Linked DNA regions of Homo sapiens: regions 2, 3 and 4 are each linked to region 1. The links are contacts of gene promoters, found by promoter capture Hi-C in human tissues and cell types (Jung and others, 2019). All regions are on one chromosome and are shown on one strand. The core of a region is centred on a gene start or on the middle of the fragment in contact, and the rest is flanking DNA. Distances in the headings are between cores, read along the strand shown. Region 1 holds the start of UTP20 (UTP20 small subunit processome component). Region 2 overlaps ANO4 (anoctamin 4). Region 3 overlaps ANO4 (anoctamin 4). Region 4 overlaps ANO4 (anoctamin 4).

Region 1 (2,985 bases), core at 62-2,561:
TATTTATTCAATATGTTAGCAACTAGCCACATTTGGGCACCCAAATTTTTAATTTACTTTAAATCCAATTTGTCATATGTGGCTACTGTATGAAACAGCACAGGTCTAAAGCATTTCATGTCCAAAAAGGAATACCTTGAAAAACAATTCACTTCTACTAACAGAAGAAACTAAAACACCATGAACACTTGAAGATTGACTAGTATCACATTCTCTTACCTCCTCATAGCTTGCAGTTCTATCAATCCGGTGAATAATATCAATATTAACATTCCCCAGTCGTTCAGCAAATGTAAGAAACTGGAAGGGAAAGTATATTTAAGATACATAATTAATTAAAATTTATCAGATCTTTAATATCTATTTGAATGCTGCATGTAGGCATCTCTAATCACAAAGGATAAGTGGAAAAATAAACTGAAAAACATACGGCCGTAAACAAATTTACTGCATCACTGTTCAAAGATAATGAATACTTCTATGTTTGCATAATTTCTCTCAGCTATGTCATTTCAAATAAAATTTCCATTGCCAGACTGGTGAGCCTAGGTGGATGCTGGCAATTAGTCTCGCTAGATCTATTAGGTTTCATACCCTCCCATAAGCATGGGGACCTAGCAAAGTCGCTGCAATAAAAGTGTTTTTAAACATATACAGACCTATGATTGTATCCTAAGGAAGACCTGGAAACAATCTATCAAGGGGCAAACAGAGAAAGCGCTGTATATTTGCCCTTAGCTGGGAATCACTCACCGCCAGCCGACTCGCCCAATTCGGTCTTTAAAGATAAAAGAGCAGGGGAGAATTGGTCCTAAGCAATCTCCTGGAATAGTGAATTTAATTCTGGACTACAGGAAATTCCCAGGACTGGCCAGACCCCATAAAACATGGGTGAAACTTGCTGTCCACACTTCTTTCCTCCTCCAACCCATGTTTACTACATCCAGTGTCTCCCTCTTTCGCCGGAGCCTCCAGGAAAGTGACACACTCGGCCCAGAAGTCTGAGGCCCCTGGAGTCTCGCTCAGAGCCTGTCTCACGACTGAGGCAGCGGAGACCCGCGGCTCCCTGCCTAAGCTCCCGCGCTCACCCGGTAGGTGTTCTCGGTCTTGTGGGAAACGGGCTTTGTCTTCATGGCTGCAGAGGGCCAGTGGCCCGCGACGGCCTCGGGAGTGTCGAAGGGATGCAACCGACAGTAAGGAGGGGAAAGCGGCTCACAGGCTATACTCTCCGATTCCCAGATGCCCAGACTTTCTCACGTGCGGCTTGAGCCCCTGGGCGCCGCCATGTTGGAGACAAGGAGGAGCCTGAGTGGGTCACGTGGACGGAAAAAAGAACGGCGCAGGCGCACCCTTTGGTGGGGTGGGGCCTACAGGAGGCGGGGCTGCGCACATAAGGGCGGGCGTTTGGGTGAGGTGTTCTTTTCACTCCCTTCGGTAAAGGTTTAGAAGACAAATGTATTTTCATTATAAAATAAAACATACCTGTAATCGTTATCAACTAACATTACTGTCCCTCACTACGTACCTGCATCGTGCAAAGATCCTTTCATCCATAATTTCACAGTAAAGCTTATTAGGGATGTTAATACAAAGGAGGTACTGCGTCTATCTATATATCTATATATAGATATATACTTTTTTTTTTTTTTTTTTGAGACGGAGTCTCACTCTGTCTCCCAGGCTGGAGGGCAGTGGCGCGATCTCGGCTCACTACAATCTCCGCCTCCCGGGTTCAAGCAGTTCTCCTGCCTCAGCGTCCAAAGTAGCTGGGACTACAGGCACCCGCCGCCACGCCCGGCTAATTCTTTTGTATTTTAGTAGAGACGGGGTTTCACCTTGTTGCCCAGGCTGGTCGCGAACTCCTGAGCTCAGGCAATCCGCCCGCCTCGGTTTTCCAAAGTGCTGGGATTACAGGTGTGAGCCACCGCGCCTGGCCGGTACTGTGTATATTTTTAAGCCAATTTGACACAAGAGGAAACCAAGGTTGTGCAGCTGGTAACTGGCAGTCTTCACTCAGACTCTAAATTTTGGTATTCTTAACCACTACGCTGTAAATAAAATTGAAAAATAGAGAAGGAGTTTTAAGAAAAATCTTTTAATTTCATGCACAACCGCTGTTAATGTTTGGTGTTTTTCCCATCACTTTAATGTCTACACATAGCATGTTGTTAAATTGTACAGTTATATATACATATATGTACAATTTTAAAAAATAATTTAAAAATATAATTATTTACCCCATTTTACATTCATTCATTCATTCAGCAACTATTTCTTGAGAGTCCTCTGTGGACCAGGTACTGTTCTGGGAGCCAAACGAGAAAGGCAATAATAGTATTAATTAATTATTTGAAAATATTCACAGCCTTCAATTCCTGGGCTAAAGTGAGCCTCCCACCTCAGCCTCCCAAGTAGCTAGGGCTACAGGCATGCACCACCACACCCAGCTCTTTTATTATTATTATTATTATTATTATTATTATTATTATTATTTGTAGAGATGGGATCTTGCTATATTGCCCAGGCTGGTATCAAACTTCTGGACTCAAGCAGTCCTCTTGGCTTGGCCTCCCAAAGTGCTGGGATTACAGGGGTGAGCCACCATGCCCAGACTGGAAATACTTGGTCTGAGATGCTTACATTTTAGTCAAGGAGTGATGTTAAGTAGACAATTGGATATATTGTTGTACAGAGCTCACTGTAGCAGTCTGGGCTGCAGACGTGACTTAAATACACCTAAATACCTCAAGTGTGAGGCATTTGCGACTGGGAAAGAGAGCCAGTAAGGTAGAAACAGACTAGTTATGGCATGGAAGCAGAGCTGGTGGCCAACTATACTGCAAATTCGAGGATAGAGAAGTGGTTGCTGGATCTGACAAGGTGAAGGTCACTGGTGACCTTGCTAAGTACAGTCTAGTTGGAAGAAAGGAAGTGAAATATGCATGGATTGAGGAGGTAATCAGAGTTGAGAAAGTGAACATAACA
Region 2 (3,032 bases), core at 240-2,739, 290 kb after region 1:
CCTCTGCCTCCCAAAGTGCAGGTATTACAGATGTGAGCCACAGCACTCAGCCTGGTTTACTTTCTCACAAAATCAGCAACCTTTTTTTTTTTTTTTTTAAATCCATCACCCTTTTCTTCCCTCCAGGTAAGTCATTTTTATGGAGGCTGTCACTACTGCTGGAGCAAGAGGGCCTGGAATTCCTGATCTTGTTGCAAGGGAGGTGGGGCTGACCTGATCTCTGCCTCCACTGAGAGGCTGTGTTTCTCCTATTGTTTACAGTCTCCAGCACACGGCAGGCTTTTCTGTCCTCCTGCCTGCCCTGCCCTGCATCCAGCCATCATTTCTTGTCATCTCAGAAGCTTCAGAGTAAATTCTCTTTCATTTTTGCAGTTCCTCACAGGCTCAGTGACTTAGCCAACTTGTTTTTCCTCCCCCCATGTCAAAAGTGACAAATAACCATTCTGAGACAATCTGACAGATGACTCAGCAAGTGGGCTGCCAGGTGATGTGGCTTTTCCTAAGGCAACCCAGTGAACTGCTGAAGAAAGGGGAACTGAGAAGTGAACCAAGATAAAACAAAAACCGGAAAACAAAAAACCCTCTTTTCAATGGGAAAAGGTGTAGGCCACTCCTCCTGTCTGCTGGCTAGATGCAGATGAGCCTGCAGGGGGCTCCGTGCACAGGGAGTTGGCAGAGCAATGAGAATGACAGAGCCTGGGTCACTGCCTTTCTGTGGAGAAGATCATTTACCCAACACACACATGAGCAAGCATTGTATCATCTTAAGCCACTGAGATGCAGGGATTGTTGGTTACAGCAGTTATCTTCCCCTGACTGAAATAAAAGGGATATGAACACTCACAAGACTTTTAGGGGAGAAGGGCACTATGCTGTTCCTTCCTCATGCCCAGGAATCAAAGGCGTGCAGGGTGAGGCTCTACCACAGCTGCACATCCTTAGTGAGATGGGGCTTTAACATGGAACACTCACTGATGGATCCTTTGCTGGCTGAAAGGGGCAGTGTAGCAGTCATTCTCCTCCAGGTCTGGCAGTGTCTCCTTGTCCAGCCTCATTGGCTTCTTAGGTAACCATCTCCGAAACCTGCTTATTTGTTTATCGATCCTGTGGTACATGGAAGGCAAGACCAAAGGGTACAGCATGTCAGCAATGCCCTGAAACACAGGAGGAAGGTCTCCGCAGAGCCACAACTATCATACCACACATTCCAGGCCCTCTCACTGCACTCAGGATATCCTTGTTTTATAGATGGAAAGAAGACAGCCAGAACTCTAGTGTTGTTTTGATTTCACCAAGTGGCCTCAATATTATTACTGTTTGTGAAATAGCAGCTGTGAGTTAGATGTCCACCCACATGCCAATAATAAATGACCAAGCAGTCCTAACAAGGCTGGAAAGCTCTGAAAAGGATTCCAACAGTCCCTTAAGCAAGCAGCAGAGATCTTAACTTACATTCTGTAGGTTCTAAAAAATTCATTTTGTGTTTGGAAAACATCTGAGGTCAGAGAAGAGCTCTAGCTGTAATTAACTTTCGGGAGGGGGTGCTGGCAGCACATCCTGGGAGTTGTGCAGAGAGCTCCATGCCATGATTTGCTTCCTGCCTCTCCCACCTCCCCTGAGCAGCCTCTCAGCAGGCAGCCGGATTTTTGGCTTTCATTGATCTCTTTTTAAGCAGGCTCCATGGTTCTCATGGTGCTAGGGCATCGTGACACACATGTGTCACTCTAATGAAGCCAAGTCAATGAAAACAACAGTATCCTAAAAGTGGTTTTCAGCTACAGTTTTCTCTCTGGCTATCTCCCTGGTCCCTCGGTTCCACTGACTTCTGCTGATGAAAACATCTGGCTTCCAAGTGAACAGTTCCCAATCACTGTTCACAGAAAAACACCAGAAGGCGCAAAAACCACACCAAACTTTAAAATGATAGCACTACCTCAAGTGTCTATACTACTGGAAAAAATACCTTCTAAATTTATTAACTGAAAACACGTGGAATTTGGTCATGCTTTATTTTTTTCCTAATTAAAACAATATATTTACATGGCAATGTATTCTTTTCAGTGAATGTTATGGCTAATTTACTGTGTCAACTTGGCTAAGTTAAGGGATGTCCAGATAGCTGGTAAACATTATTTTGAGGTGTGTCTGTGGGGTTGTTTCCTGAAGAGATCAGTGTTTGAGTTTGTAGACTTAGTAAAGAAGTTGGTCCTCACCAACACAGGTGGGCACCATCTAATCCATTGAGGACCTGAATAGGACAAAAAAGTGGAGGCAGGGTGAATTTGCTGTCTGCTTGAGATGGAACATCCATCTTCTCCTGCCCTTGGACATTGGCCTTCCTAGTTCTCAGGCCTTTACACTGGAAATGGGACTTACACCATCAGGTTTCCTAGGCCTCCTTCTTAAAAACTGCAGATTGCGGGACTTCTTGCTCTCCAGAATCTTATGAGCTAACCGTGCAAATCCTGATCCAAGTCTGAAGGCCAGAGAACCAGGAGCACTGATGTCTAAGGGCAGAAGAAGAGAGATGTCCCAGCTCAAGCAGCAGCAAATTCACTATTCCTCCATCTTCTAGTTCCACTCAATGGGTTGGATGGCACCCACCTGCACTGGGGAGGATCAGCTTCTTTACTAAGTCTACTGATTTGAATGCTAATCTCTTCTGGAAACATTATCACAGATGCACCCCAAAATAATGTTTTACCAGCTATCTGGGCATCCTTTAGCCCAGCCAGGTTGAACATATAAAATTAACCATCACAGTGAAACTCTCAGCTGAAGATAATATTATTTATATAACCAATCAATTCCAAACTAAAAAATAATGGTAAACTTCTCTTTCACTATCTCCTTTATTCTCAGCATTGTTCCAGCCTCACCATGATCCCAACTCTGCTTGGTGGTGGCTGTCCTTCTTCAGAACTCCCAAAGGGTCAAACTGAAAAGAATCTCACAGTGGCTCTAGGACCCTCCTCCCCAAGAGAACCCTCCGCCCCAAAAGAAATATACTTAAAATATAGTGAGATGATGGG
Region 3 (3,106 bases), core at 417-2,916, 330 kb after region 1:
GGACAGGACACCCTTAGCACTGGGGAAGGGTGGCATTTGTGGGCACAGAGGCAGATAGGTGAGTCCATGCAATGGGAGATACTTGTGGTCATTCTTTTCTTATTGCTTCAAGGACATTTCTCTAAAAATTCTTCCTCCACTCTTTCCCAACATCAATTTTCCATCTCAAATATATAGTTTGTATTAGCATAAAAACATGTATTTATTTCTCCCATCTAAAATAGAAAGAACTCTTTATTGACCAAACTTCATACTCCAGTTATCATTCTATTTCTCTCCATTCCTTTACAGTGAAACATATTGAAAGAACTGTTTGTATTCGTTGTCTCTGTATTTTCTCTTCCCATTCTTTCTTGAAGACACTTTAATGAAGCTTTCACCCCTGACTTCTCCACTGAAACTTCTCTTGCCCAGACCACCCAAACCTGCCATATTGCTAAATCCAATAATTAACTTTCAGCTTTGATCGTACACACCCCATCAGCAGCATTTGACACAGTTGATTCCTCCATCTCTCCTGAACCACACACTCTAGATTTTCCTTCTAGCTCCTTGGTGACTCCTTCTTAGTCTCTTCTGCTGCCTCCTTTTTATCATCCAAATTGTAACACTAGTGTTCCCCATGGCTCAATCCTTGGACCTCTTCTCATTTTTATTTGCAGTTACTCCTTTGGAGATCTCATTCAAATGTGTATCTCTAGTCCAGATCTCTCCTTGAATCCCAGACTCTTCTATCTTACCCAACATCTCCATTGGGATATCTCAATCTTAACAAGTCTACAATTTGACCTACTCTTTTCCGCATCCCTGTAAGTGGCAACTGTCTTCTCCCAACTGCTTAGATAAATACCATGTGTCAGACAAATAGTCTGTGACTCTTCTTTTTTACACTGCCCATTCAATCTGTCTGCAATTCCCATCAGTGCTACTTTCTACTCTTCTCATCTTCCTCTCTTCTATGTGCTTGACCAAGCTACCATCATCTCTTTCCTGGATTCTTGCAACGAATCTCCTAATTATTCTCCCTGCTTCTGCCCTTGCCACCTCCACCCCTCACAGTCTAATCTTACCAGGCAACCCGAATGCCCTTATTAAAACAGAAAACAGATCTTATATTTCTGCTCAAATCTCTCCAGTGGCTTCCTATGTCACTCAGAGAAAAGCTAACATCCCCCAGTGATCACTAAGGCTTCCACTGCCTTGTTGGTGTAATTTCTCACTATTCTTCACCTTGCTCAGTGAACTCCAGTCATACTGGCATCCTCACTGTTCCATGAACACACCAGGCATGCTCCATCCTGTGGAGCTGTTCTCTTTGCACTTGCTATTCTCTTTCTGTGGAAAAGAGGCCCACTCTTGCTGACTTTTATAAAATTGCAAGCCCCTCTCAACACTTCCTGCTTTACTTTTTTCTCTTTAGCACTTACTGATATTTGTATATGTTGTACATATTTTTTGTTTAAGTTCCAACAAAGCAGGGATTTTTTTTTCTGTTTTATTTGTTGCTGCTGAGATCCTAGTCCTTAAAGCAATGCCTGGCATAGAGTGAGTGTGCAATAAATATTTTTTGAATGAAATAACCATCATCAAGATGATATGATTTACCTAATTATATTAGTTTTGTAAGGACTGTAATGATAAAGGTCTTCCCCAATGTTTCACATGATTCTGAAGCGGGAGGGTGCTCCATTAGTACAACTGTTACTCACACATTCCAAATAATTCAAAGTTAACTCATCCTCTTACTAGTTATACAAAAGAAAAGATAAATGTCTTATTGAGGACAATGATTTCAAAATAGGTATCCAAAGATCAATAATGGACATAGAATTAAAAATGAAAAAATCAGAAATAGAAAATGTTAATTAGTAAATATGAGCTTACCTTTAAGAAGGGAATCACTTTAAGTGGATAGATACTAAGAAGTAAATCACCTGGACTTCAATGATATTTTGTTTGGGAACTTTGTTGTGAATTGCTTTCTCTGGGCTATTATGAAAGTTGAATTGCAGAATATTAAAGACCCAGGGTACCAAAGCAAGCACTTATGTGTTGACTAATCAGCCTGGAGCAAAGGTTTTAAGAAAGATTAAACTTGACTATGTCCTCACTTTTATCATGAATTAAAGATTATCCTAGTTGTGTTTCTTGAAATTCAATGTTAAAGAGATAAGGATGTTAAACTGAACTAGAAAGCCTGTCTTTGTCTATTTGGAAACATAAGCATCTGTCTGTGAAACATGTTTTTCATAATTGTTAGACATCATGACAACAGCTAATTAAGAAGATACTAATAATTCATAAAATGTGCATAGTGTCAAACGTTTCAGATATACAAGGGTCCCTAGGGTGTTTCTTCTTTTCCACCCTGAACTAAGTTCTTCATTTTATGTCCTATAAAAGGTTGAATTAACTCCTGGAAGCTGAAATCGCCATTAAAATTGTCTTTCTGCTGTAGCTGCTTATAAAAAACTTGATTTAAATAAAAATACTTCCAACGGTTTCTAAATTTAATAATACAATGTAGATACTTCATATAAAAATTCTGCCACTTATTATGAGAATAAAGGATGAAGGTTTGTTTACTGTTCAGCCAAGGGATATTTTCTTTTAATTATTTATGGCAGGGAAAAATTAATTTATCTATAAGAGAACCTGCAAAGGCCCTTTTCTTGCTGAGCTGACTGAGTCCACGAAGATGCAAAGCAGAGCTGGGAGGCTGCATTAGAGAGAAATTGCACCATTTATGCAAAGTCAGGGCAAGACTCGAGCCAGGCAGCGGGAGAGGTCACTTGTGAAGAAGGTTCCAGAAAGGGGAAGACCTAACTGTTTGTAGTGTCTAAAAGATTGTGGAGGAAAGGAGAAATATGGAAGGTGATGCCCAGAGAAGAACTTTTGGGGGAAAGTGGGGAGGGGGGAAATGCTTAGATAAGTTTTTATGATGTTTTGCCATATAGTGATAATTCCCTTTTTCCAATTGCTATTTTTTCCAGTACACATTAAAATAAATACCTGTTAAAATTTTTTTTTTAAATTCCAACAAACAAAACTATCTTGTATATAGACAAAATCGTACAAGCAGTCCATTCTTCACAGCATGCTCCAC
Region 4 (3,215 bases), core at 285-2,784, 420 kb after region 1:
CTGTTCACACTGTCACTTAAAGACTCAAGTTGATAGAGCAACTACTGTCAAAAATAAGACATCAAAATATGCTCTTAAAGCCACTGGCTTTTAAAGCTTCTTCTCAGAAGTGACACCTGTCACTGCCACTCACATTTAACTGGCTAAAACAAGTCAAGTCATATGGCCATATCCGAGTTCAGTGGAGTGCAGAAGAGCCTGGACCGAACTATACTAGCACGGAACGATACTGTACTATAGCCCAAAAAAGGAAGGGAGCCATATACTTGTGAACAGCCTGAAAGACTACCACAAAATGTAACAGAAATGGTAATGTGAAAGTGCCATTCTCTAATTTGTTTATTATGTTACTTTTTTGCCCTGAGACTTGACTTCCTCAAGCATTCCTCTTCTTCTCTGGCAGATAAAAATCCAGATACATAATGACTTCTTTTGTGAAAACCTAGTACGTGGCACTTCCCTGCTCCTATTTGGCAACTGTGGGAATCTTGCTTCCAATATATGTTTGAGTCACTCCTGTTGGGAGTAATTAGAAAATGAGGGAACTGGGGGTGGAAGCAGAAAAAGAAGCAGGGCAGATGGTAGAGTGGTTTTGCAATGAAGCTACTGGCAAGAAATAGGAAGCTGAGGGAAAATGGACCCCAAATCCTACTATGCCACTTCATATCTGTAAAAAGACAGAAAGCTAAATCTTATGAGAATTCTAAGTCACACAGGCATTAAATTTTTGAGTGGAGAACCAGGCAAAGAAAATAAAAACAAAAGCTCTTTTACATCAAAATATCTTTAAAAAGCAAAAGAAATCAAGAAGGATTTTTTTAAATTGAGGGAACTTAAAGTTTCTAAGAAGCAAAGGATACTAAGTAGAAATTAATTATACAATCCACACCCATATACATATAGATATTGCCAATCTTCTCTATTTGGTATGAGGCCTACAGTTTTATCTTAGACAGTCATGAGCCTCATAATGACGGACCACATATATGATGGCGGTCCCATAAAATTATAATATCATATTTTTACTGTACATTTTCTAGGTTTAGACACAAAAATACCACTGTGTTAAAGTTTTTTACAGTATTCAATACAGTAACATGTACAGGTTTACAGCCTAGGAGCAACAGGCCATACCATGTACCCTAGCTATGTAGTGGGCTATACTAGCTAAGCTTGTGTAAGTGCAGTCTTTCATGTACCCACAGTGATGAAATCAGCTAACAATGCATTTCTCAGACATATCACCATCATTAAGCAATACATGACTGTATTATTTATACAGGCTTTTATCACCTTCATTTAAGAAATCGCTCTTCCCAACTCATGAAGTCCTCAATATCAAATTCTCCTATCACCAGTGATAGAAATTATGTTTTCATACATATATCTCTGCTGAGGAATTAAATAGTCACATTTCATTTTCTTTTCTGGTTCTAGTGGTTTGATTTCAAATGAGGTTTGAATATTATCAATATTCAAATATTATCTTTGGTGGTTTGGTTTTGTCTTCTCACATTAACGTATTTAGTAAGAAAATTCTTTCAGAGTGATGTAGGTTATTTTATAATTTTGGTTTGAGGAGGCTGTAGTTCTATTACAAATTCAGAGGGCTTCAGAGGCAATCCAATTTCTTTCTTTCATCCCACATCCTGCCACTCCTCAAACACAGCGGATATAGAGGACTCAACTTCTTATTTTACATGGATAATTTAATGATGTCATTGTTTGACAGCTGAACCCAGAGAATCTCAAAGTGGCACCACACTTGTCTGCGTATCAGCTTCATGGGGAGGCAATATGGCCTGGAGTTTATAAATGAGGGCTTTGGAGTTGGCATGCCTCAGGGTTTGCATTGGAGTTAGTGACCGTGTGCAAGTAATTACATGCTCTGTGCCTTTGTTTCCTTGAGTAGGGATTATGGTAAGGATTAAGTCAGATCACGAATGTAAAGCATTTAACATCCTACATGGAAAACAGTGAGTACTCCATAAATATCAGTTGCTATTATTATCACCTAATGTTGTAATTATTCTGTACTAATGAGGTATACCATCCAAAAAAATATCTGATTCTGCTTTGTCTGTTGTACATTTGAGATTGTCCACTTAAGAAGGTTTTCTGAACATTATTAAATGCATTCTGTATATGTTCAAGCTTCTTAGCAACGAAGAGAAACCACTGAAAACTGGACAATGTGCATGGCCTCTGGCAGTGACCTCCAAATGTCCCTGGATGTTCTCTCAGGCATTTCAGGAACATTTGAGTCTCCATACGCCCCATGATGGTTTTTCCACTGCCACATGACACCACACTGCATGGCTTCTGCTGAAACAAAACCACTACCATCTTAAATCTTGATAAACTCACTAACTAGAGAAGAAAGAAGAAGTCTACCAGAGAATCATATTTTGCTCTTCTCTCCCTCACATCCTTACTCCCACATCCAGTCAATCAGAAAGTCCTGCCAAGTTTCCCTCTTAAATATTTTAAGATCCTCAGCAGCCCTAAAAAAATCAAGCCCATACTACTTACCATAGCAAACACCATCTAGCCCTGGTTTTATATCCTGCCACTCTCTGCCTCACATGTGATTCTTCCACAATGCGAAGCTGCTCTGATTCCCACATCCACCATGCTGATTCCTACCCCGTGCCTTTGCTCAGGCTGAAACTCCCTTCCCTCACCATGGGTGAGGTATACCTGGCAAGCTTCTTCCTATCCATCCTTTATGATTTAATAGAGCCACCATCTTCCACTCTTCATCCTTCTTGCCAAGCTGAAATAGCTTCCCCTCTTCTGTGTTCTCAAAATACCCTTTACTCATTTCTATCATTGTCTTATCCTGCCATTTTACAAATATTGATTTGTTTTTCCCCCAGCTGGCTACAGAAGTTGACCCTATACTGTATTTACTTTCTATCCTCCAAGCACTTACTACTGAGTTACAAACAGATGCTAAACAAATTTTTCTTGAAAAAGGGAGCAAGTGTGCCTTCAGATACACTCCTAGTGTAAACTTGGAAAATTTTCTTAATTTCCGTAGAAATTGTTTTCATCTATAAAATAGGAGACTGGTGGGTTCTGCCAATCACAGGCTACCATGAATCTACAGTGCATGCTTTTCTCAAACCAGCATTTGCAATTAGTGGCAGAAATGAAAATTCTGGCTGATTATAACCAAAATCCTTCGGCAAAGTACTTCAAGTCTCCTACAA

Evidence for each region. Contacts are between HindIII fragments. The study calls those that stand out against the background at their distance.
Region 2: a fragment that was not itself captured here is called in contact with the fragment with the promoter of UTP20 in region 1 in 2 of the 25 tissues and cell types used here (dorsolateral prefrontal cortex and lymphoblastoid cells).
Region 3: a fragment that was not itself captured here is called in contact with the fragment with the promoter of UTP20 in region 1 in 2 of the 25 tissues and cell types used here (mesendoderm cells and thymus).
Region 4: a contact is called between a fragment that was not itself captured here and the fragment with the promoter of UTP20 in region 1, in 3 of the 25 tissues and cell types used here (bladder, mesenchymal stem cells and thymus).

What each region holds. Positions count from the first base shown.
Region 1 is chr12:101,278,431-101,281,415 of GRCh38, reverse strand. It overlaps UTP20 (UTP20 small subunit processome component), which reads right to left and starts at 1,311. Exons shown (of 62, transcript NM_014503.3): 1 at 1,089-1,311; 2 at 220-300. The coding sequence starts at 1,133. RefSeq lists enhancers at 1,238-1,287, 1,021-1,612. The HindIII fragment of the contact is 9,089 bases long and covers 1-2,797 here.
Region 2 is chr12:100,985,611-100,988,642 of GRCh38, reverse strand. It overlaps ANO4 (anoctamin 4), which reads right to left. Exons shown (of 28, transcript NM_001286615.2): 8 at 973-1,104. Among named protein-coding and RNA genes, the nearest start is that of ANO4, 190 kb to the right of the region's middle. RefSeq lists enhancers at 1-298, 1,351-1,876. The HindIII fragment of the contact is 9,616 bases long and covers 1-3,032 here.
Region 3 is chr12:100,944,300-100,947,405 of GRCh38, reverse strand. All of the region lies in intron 5 of ANO4 (anoctamin 4), which reads right to left. Among named protein-coding and RNA genes, the nearest start is that of ANO4, 150 kb to the right of the region's middle. The HindIII fragment of the contact is 4,136 bases long and covers 1-3,106 here.
Region 4 is chr12:100,856,159-100,859,373 of GRCh38, reverse strand. The region is part of intron 1 of ANO4 (anoctamin 4); the gene reads right to left. Among named protein-coding and RNA genes, the nearest start is that of ANO4, 63 kb to the right of the region's middle. The HindIII fragment of the contact is 3,862 bases long and covers 1-3,215 here.